2 separate regions of the Homo sapiens genome follow, and region 2 is linked to region 1. Evidence: promoter capture Hi-C in 16 types of primary human blood cells and fetal thymus (Javierre and others, 2016). All regions are on one chromosome and are shown on one strand. The core of a region is centred on a gene start or on the middle of the fragment in contact, and the rest is flanking DNA. Distances in the headings are between cores, read along the strand shown.

Region 1 (3,752 bases), core at 456-2,955:
CCTGGCCAACACAGTGAGACCCCCATTGCTAAAAAAAAAAAATTAATTAGCAGGGCATGGTGGTGCAAGCCTGAAGTCCCAGCTACTTGGGAGTCTGAGGTGGGAGAATCACTTGAGCCCAGGAGTTCCAGGCTGCAGTAAGCCGTGATTGTGCCACTGTACTCCAGCTTGGACAACAGAGCGAGACTTGAAAAAATAAAATAACAGCACCTACCTCTCAGGGTTGTTGCCAGGACTGAGAATATCCTTATCAGCTGTTATATTCACTTTGGTATTACTCTCCCCCAGTGCTTTGCACAACACAGAGGAAGTCAGTATTTTTGACTGAATGAATAGGGCTAGGTGACCTTAAGCCTAAGTACCTATTGAGCACATTTTCCAAGGATTTTCGGAAAATTTCCTTTGAAAAGGAAATGTTTGTGTAGCCTTGTGGAAAACTGATTCTATCACCAAGGTAAGCAGCCTAAGCGCACCTGCTGGAAAGAAGGCAATCCTAAACTGTCTGTTAATAAAAAGTCAAGGTTTACAAATAAAAGGGGTGCAATGAAGAAAAGGGGCACACTTTAAATAAGAAGAGTAGGTAGGCACCTAAGCCCCACGCGCTTCTCCGAATAAGTCTGTCCTACAAGACTCCTGACAAACAGACCACCTAAGGACTGGCCGGCGCCACAGGGTGAATAAAGGACACCGGCAACCATAAACAAGTCACGCTTTTAAAAGCGAGACATACCAGCAAGGACACAATACCCTACTGAGCCAGCTTCGGCTGGCAGGCGCCGTGACCTCACCCAAAGCCACTGGTGTCACGGCTACTGCCACCGGTGCCGTCCCTTGCTCGGCAACTAACTGCCACCCGCTGGCATCTGCACGAGACCGCTATTTATAACCTCCCTAGGAAGCCGATTGGCCACGGCTGCAAATAGTCATTCCGGCTGTTGAGTTTGAACTAGCTCTGCCCAGGTCGCCCTCTCCGCTGTCTCTTCCTCCTCACCAGCCTAGGCCCCAGAAACTTGTACCCACCACCGCCAGACCGCCCCAACTCACACTCACAATTTGTGCTCGCAATCTCCTATGTCCCCAGCCGGACACCCTCTCCGAACTCCCTCAAGGGTCAAGCATACCTCAAGGGCATCCAGCTGCCACCTCTCTGGATGAACCGCCCATCGAAAGTCCTCTATGACCTCCCTCTCCACCACCCCCGATCTTGAGGGCCGAAATGACCCCGTACGACTCTCGCTGTCCCCCAAAGCTGCAAATATCTGCACCTGCACAGCTGCCGCCTCATTCCCTGCCCTCTTCGGGGACCCAGTTCCCAAATCCACCAGCCCACTCCCTTCGACATCGCCCCAGCAGGAGACGAGAAAGGGACACCAAGAGGCACGGTGCTTCTTCCCCACCTAAGCCTGCGGCCTGCGGACACCCCAATGCACCCTGCGCCCGGGACACCGCCGACCCCGCCCCGCTTTGCTCTTTGACAGGTCTCTCTCCCGGCGAGGGCCGTGGTCTTCAGGAAAGGCCCGAGCCCCTTTCCCAGCTGCGCCCTAGGCGCGCGCCCCGGCTGCCCGCACCCGCCAGTGCCGTCGCGCTCACCTGGGCCGGGAGGCTGACAGCCTTGGGCTGTGCCCTGAGGGCCGCGAGAGGACGTCGCGCTGGCAGACCCGGGCTTGGGCCCCGCGGCGCTGCGCCTCCAACCCGGAAGAACAGCCCCAACTCCGCGGCGGCGGGCGGCCACGTGACTGCAGCTCCGCTCCCACCTCGGCCCGCGCCCCTTCCCCGCCCCAGCTTTCTTCCCGCCAGGCCCCCTCCACCCGATCGCCGCGCGCTCTCCGAACCAAAAGGCGACCTCACGAAATGCCCCTTTGAGCTCAAAGGCTAGTTACCCCCAGGGGCCCTTCCACTCTCGGGGACAGGCGAAACCTCTTTGTCTCTGCCTCGGCCTGCGGCCCCCAGCCCAGCCTCCGCGCTTTCCCTCCGCCAGTCCTTGTCAATCAAACCTGGTGCCAAACGCGGCAGCTGAAGTTTTCAGGGACACATTTGCTTCTCCCCTTGAAGAACCAGTTACAAAGCGTGATGTCCTCTCTGGGGTCCCATCAGAACAAAGAAACAGGTAATATAACTCCACTCCGGGTACCTGCCTTTCCTCCAGCTCGCTAGGAAAAATCAGAACTTCTGTAACAGAGAGGACCCAAGGGAAAGGGGCAGGCGGAGAGGGGTTGGTGAAGGGCGGGAATGGGGGGCGTTGATTTTCCATTCTGGCAGGAGAGGTGGAGTTAAATTCCTCAGAAACGATGTCCAGGCTTGAAAAGTAACACACATCTGCGTGCTTGTCTTCCAACATCAGAGCCAGCCTAGAGGAAGCTGGCTAGTGTCACTGCTAGTACGAATATCCCCGAGGCTGGAAAGCATCTGGGTGGAGGTTGTGAGCTTTCCAGACCAGGCCTCGGCTGTTTTTCTAAAACTATTAACCGTAATGACCTAGTCGTTCTTTTCACACAGTTCTGTTACTTATTCTGCAGGTGTATTCTGACTAAAAGTGGGAGGAATAAAAAATAGAGTGTAAAATGGTTCACTTGCCCAAAACTTAATCATCATGAAGTGTCAGTAACGTCATTTATTTCTATTAATTGAAATTTTGATACAAGAAAAATAATTATGAATCTAAAAGGTATAAGCAGAACAGGTATTCCATAACTTTAAAAAGAAATGAGCCGCAGGGAAACCCTTAGTTTGAGAACTTGTCTTGTGATTAACCTACACAGAAGGTCATTCAACTAATGGATTCCCACTGCAGTCCAAACTCACAGACAGGAAATGACACAGCCCCATGTTTTAAAATAATAATGAGCCGTGGTAAGTGTGACCATAGGGACGGTTTCCAGATACTGAAGGTACAATGAAGTGAGATTAGTAATGATCCCACTTAGTAAGGATTTTAAACTAAGTTATTGATTTAAAACTTTTTGTAGGGGTCAGGAGTTGCTGCTTTGTCTTTTAGGGATTAATAATTCGTGGTTCCCAACTGGGGACAATTTAGTTCCGAGGGATATTTGGCAATGTCTAGAGACATTTTGGTTGTCACAATTGGAGAGGGGACCTATCTAATGGGTTGGGGCCAGGGATATTACTGAACACCTCACACTACACAGCCCCTCACGACGAAGCATTATCCAGCCCCAAATGTCAATAGTGCTGAGGCTGAAAAATCCTGGCTTAAATTAATGCTCAGTACATTATTTAATTTTGACTTGCTTATAAATTTATATCACATGAAAACAAACTCAAAGATAACATACTGTTTTTCACTTTTGAAAATCATGAATGTTAGGCATATGATAATTTTAATAACAAGCATATGATTATTTTATTCCGCTTACTTGTACAACATAATTTGGGTGCCATTTCTTCAGGAGAAAACATTTGTCATTTGGAATGCTCTGTTTCAGTCCTTAAGCTTCTACGTATAATTACAGCATATTATTCATAAACGGAGTCCCCAATGAAAATAGGATTAAGTTCCAAAAGTTTGCTTTTAAGTTAGTTGCTTCTAAGTCTTAGACACTGTCTTGAATAAAATTTTTGTAGAGATTTGATATTCCCTATTAAGTTTTAAGGGCCTTTCCCACTCTGACTTCTACTCTTTCCTCCCTGACTAATTTGACCTGCAAACTCTCATCTTAAAATAGTACCTCTCACATATGTGTAAGTTTTCATTACAGATTGTTCTATTATTGAATAATTTTTAAAATATTTTA
Region 2 (3,752 bases), core at 649-3,148, 500 kb after region 1:
AACATTTTCAGTTTTATTCTTCTGAATGACTTAAAGATTTTTCAATTAGAAAAACTCTCTTCATGAATGACATGTACTAATGTACTAAAGAACTTTGCTTCTAGATCTATTTAGAATTGTCACACTTCTTCTACTACTGATTACTACTGTAATCTACTGGGATTACAGGTGTGAGCCACTGCGCCCGGCCATTTTTTTCTTTCTTTCTTTCTCCTTTTTTTTTTTTTTTTTGAGGTGGAGTCTCGCCCTGTCGCCCAGGCTAGAGTGCAATGGCGGTATCTCAGCTCACTGCAACCTCCACCTCCTGGGTTCAAACGATTCTCCTGCCTCAGCCTCCCGAGTAGCTGGGATTACAGGCGCCTGCCACCATGCCCAGCTAATTTTTGTATTTTTAGTAGAGACGGGGTTTCACCATGTTGGCCAGGCTAGTCTGGAACTCCTGACCTTGTGATCCGCCCGCCTCGGCCTCCCAAAGAGCTGGGATTACAGGTGTGAGCCACTGCGCCTGGCTCAAATGTGCTTTTCAATAAAGGATTGGGAAAAAATAAGTTAGAGTGCAACTGCAAATTCCAAAATGATTAAGCCCTTGGAAATAAAATGGGATACATGATTTGAAAGATATCCAAGAGGTGGCATGTGCAGTAAGAAGAACTCAGCATTGGGCAGGCTGGTGGCTATAGCACCAGTGCTGAGAGGGCAGGATGTTAAGTAGGAAAGAAAAGCCTTTAGAGAAGGGCAGAGTTCCAGGATCCCTGTCCATATGGACAACATGACCCTAGTCTCTCATGTCTGTCAGCTCTTGTGTCTTCTGGCTTTTCTTAGTCTCACTCAGCCACATTGTTTGTAGCACTCACTTCCCTTGAAGGCACTTGAAACTGGGACATCTGTCCACAGACAGGCCTGTCTGGACAGCCTTCCAAAATGCTCATGGCAATGAGAAAGTCTCTGAGTCCCAGTCATTTCCCTGCACACAGAGTAGTTCCCATCTTAGCAAAACTGGGTGTTCTCTGAGTATCACTCAGCACATGGAAGCTGTCCAGACTTCTGTCCTGTGCAGGCAGGCAGTAACCTGGGATCTCTGCTCTTGCATGCAGATAAACTTACAGTCCTTCAAAGCTTCAAGCTCCTAGATGGTGAAACAATACATCTGTGCTGAGAGTGAGGAGAAGGATGCAATAGTCTTCCAGTTTTGTACTTTTACACTTCTGGGTCATCAGAAACCAAAGATTTGCCTTGGTTTCCCAAAGTGTTGGGATTACAGGCATGATCCACCACGTCCAGCTTCAATAATTATTATTTTTTATTTATTTATTTTGAGACAGAGTCTTGCTCTGTCACCCAGGCTAGACTGCAGTGGCGCCATCTCGGCTCACTGCAAGCTCCACCTCCAAGGTTCACACCATTCTCCTGCCTCAGCCTCCTGAGTAGCTGGGACTACAGGTGCCTGCCACCACACCCAGCTAATTTTTTGTATTTTTAGTAGAGACGGGGTTTCACCGTGTTAGCCAGGATGGTCTCAATCTGCTGACCTTGTGATCCACCTGCCTCGGCCTCCTAAAGTACTGGGATTACAGGCATGAGCCTCCACACCCGGCCCTCAATTATTTTTGATAGTTTTGTGTCAATATTTCCATGATATATAACAATTCCTTATTATTCTAGCAATCTTTTCCTCATCATTTTGTCTTAGTTCTACATAATTCTTATACTGAGGATTAAACTGAAGCATGGCTCTAACCCTGAAACTTCTCTAATAATTTTTAATCTCAATGATATTGTTTGAATATTTGTCCCCCTCCAAATCTCATGTTGAAATTTGGTTCGGGACAGAGCAGTGGCTTACACCTGTAATCCCAGCACTTTGGGAAGCCAAGGTGGGAGGATAGCTTGTGGCCAGGAGTTCAAGACCAGCCTGGGCAACACAGAGAGACCCCTGTCTTGATAAAAATAAAAAAGGCCAGGCGCGGTGGCTCACACCTGTAATCCCAGCACTTTGGGAGGCTGAGGCGGGCGGATCACAAGGTCAGGAGATCAAGACCATCTTGGCTAACACAGTGAAACCTCGTCCCTACTAAAAATACACACACACACACACACACACACACAAAATTACCCAGGCGTGGTGGCGGGCACCTGTAGTCCCAGCTACTTGGGAGGCTGAGGCGGGAGAATGGCATGAACCCAGGAGGTGGAGCTTGCAGTGAGCCAAGATCGCGCCACTGCACTCCAGCCTGGGCAACAGAGTAAGACTCCATCTCAAAAAATAAATAAATAAATAAATAAATAAATAAAATAAAAAAGATTTTGATAATATTGGAAGTGGGACCTAAAGGGAGGTGTTTGGGTCATGGGGGTCGAGCTATCATGAATGGCTTGGTGCAGCCCCCAAGTAATAAGTAGGTTCTCACTCTATTAGTACATACAATAAAAAGAGAACCATGTCAAAAGGTACCTGAGATACACCAAGAAAGCTCAAACTTGAAGACATGTTTTTAATATGTAAATGTGTATGAATGGATACATACAAGATGTGTTTAAAATCTGTTTGAGCTGCCACTGTCAGATTCAATGTATAGCTAGCATCAATTTGCTGGGGTTAGAGGGCATCAAGATCTTCCCAGAAATTCAGAGCCTTAGGTAATCCAAAGGAAGATTCTGTCAACATTTATACCTAAGCTTGACAGCCCTGATGCCTCTTTGGACCTGGCTTGGAAATATGATCCTCTATTGTAGCAATTGTACCTTGTTGCTGAATGATGTCATCATCCACAAGATGGATCCATTCTTGATTCTCACCCTATTGACTTTTTTCCATTGCAACCATAACATGGGCTAGCTGCTCTACACCTCTCCAGTGGACTTCAAGTGCTGCTGAGCTCAAATAAATCTTGTCTGTCCCACCATTTTAACCAGACAGGCAGAGCTCTTCTGTCTTAAGTGTCTCATAAATCTTTCAAATAGGTAAACTTCTAGTGCTATGCTTCCTCTGACCGTTCTGCTATTCTGTTTTCCTGTGCCATGGTTTCTCATTAGGTTTTCTACTGTTTTTTTGTTTGTTTGTTTGTTTGTTTTTCTTTTTGTTTTTGTTTTTGAGATGGAGTTTCACTCTTGTCGCCCGGGCTAGAGTGCAATGGCGCGTTCTCGGCTCACTGCCGCCTCTGCCTCTCGGGTTCAAGCAATTCTCCTGTCTCAGCCTCCTGAGTACCTGGGATTACAGGCACCCCCCACCAAGCCCAGGTAATTTTTTTTTTTTTTTGTATTTTTGGTAGAGACAGGGTTTCACCATATTGGCCAGGCCGGTCTCGAACTCCTGACCTCAGGTGATCTGCCCACCTTGGCCTCCCAAAGTGTTGGGATTACAGGCATGAGCCACTGCGCCCGGCCCTACTATTGTTTTTTGAAGCCCTAAATTCAAGGACAAAGGTCTGGCTTTGAAGAGAGTCACCATGTTCAGTAACCTTTCTGGTCTTCAAATAAGCTCTCCCAATGATCTTGGAGTTGGACTGTATTCTGAATGATCTCTTCACTGTGTCTTTGCTCTCTCAGTAGGTTGTAAGGTCTGTGAAAGCTGTAGCCAGTCCTTCATCTTTGTGTATATGGCTCCCATCACCGCATCTGGCATATGGAAGGATATCAACACATGCTTGTGAAATGTTGAAACTAATCAGACTTTTACAGTAAGAATGATATTTGACCAAAAAAATCTGCATTTGTATCTGTCAACTTAAAAGAATCACACAATTATTAATTTA

What was found. Contacts are between HindIII fragments. The CHiCAGO score rates a contact against its expected background, and 5 or more counts as called.
Region 2: a contact is called between a fragment that was not itself captured here and the fragment with the promoter of NNT in region 1, in 4 of 17 cell types (non-activated CD4 T cells, naive CD4 T cells, activated CD4 T cells and 1 more). The highest score is 5.6, in non-activated CD4 T cells.

What each region holds. Positions count from the first base shown.
Region 1 is chr5:43,601,133-43,604,884 of GRCh38, reverse strand. NNT (nicotinamide nucleotide transhydrogenase) reads right to left here and starts at 1,705. Exons shown (of 22, transcript NM_182977.3): 1 at 1,591-1,705. NNT-AS1 (NNT antisense RNA 1) reads left to right here and starts at 1,655. Exons shown (of 3, transcript NR_073113.1): 1 at 1,655-2,107. RefSeq lists silencers at 1,445-1,664, 1,785-1,874, 2,138-2,357, a cis regulatory region at 3,596 and an enhancer at 3,512-3,681. The HindIII fragment of the contact is 7,409 bases long and covers 1-3,453 here.
Region 2 is chr5:43,098,883-43,102,634 of GRCh38, reverse strand. No RefSeq gene overlaps it. Among named protein-coding and RNA genes, the nearest start is that of ZNF131, 20 kb to the left of the region's middle. The HindIII fragment of the contact is 1,560 bases long and covers 1,119-2,678 here.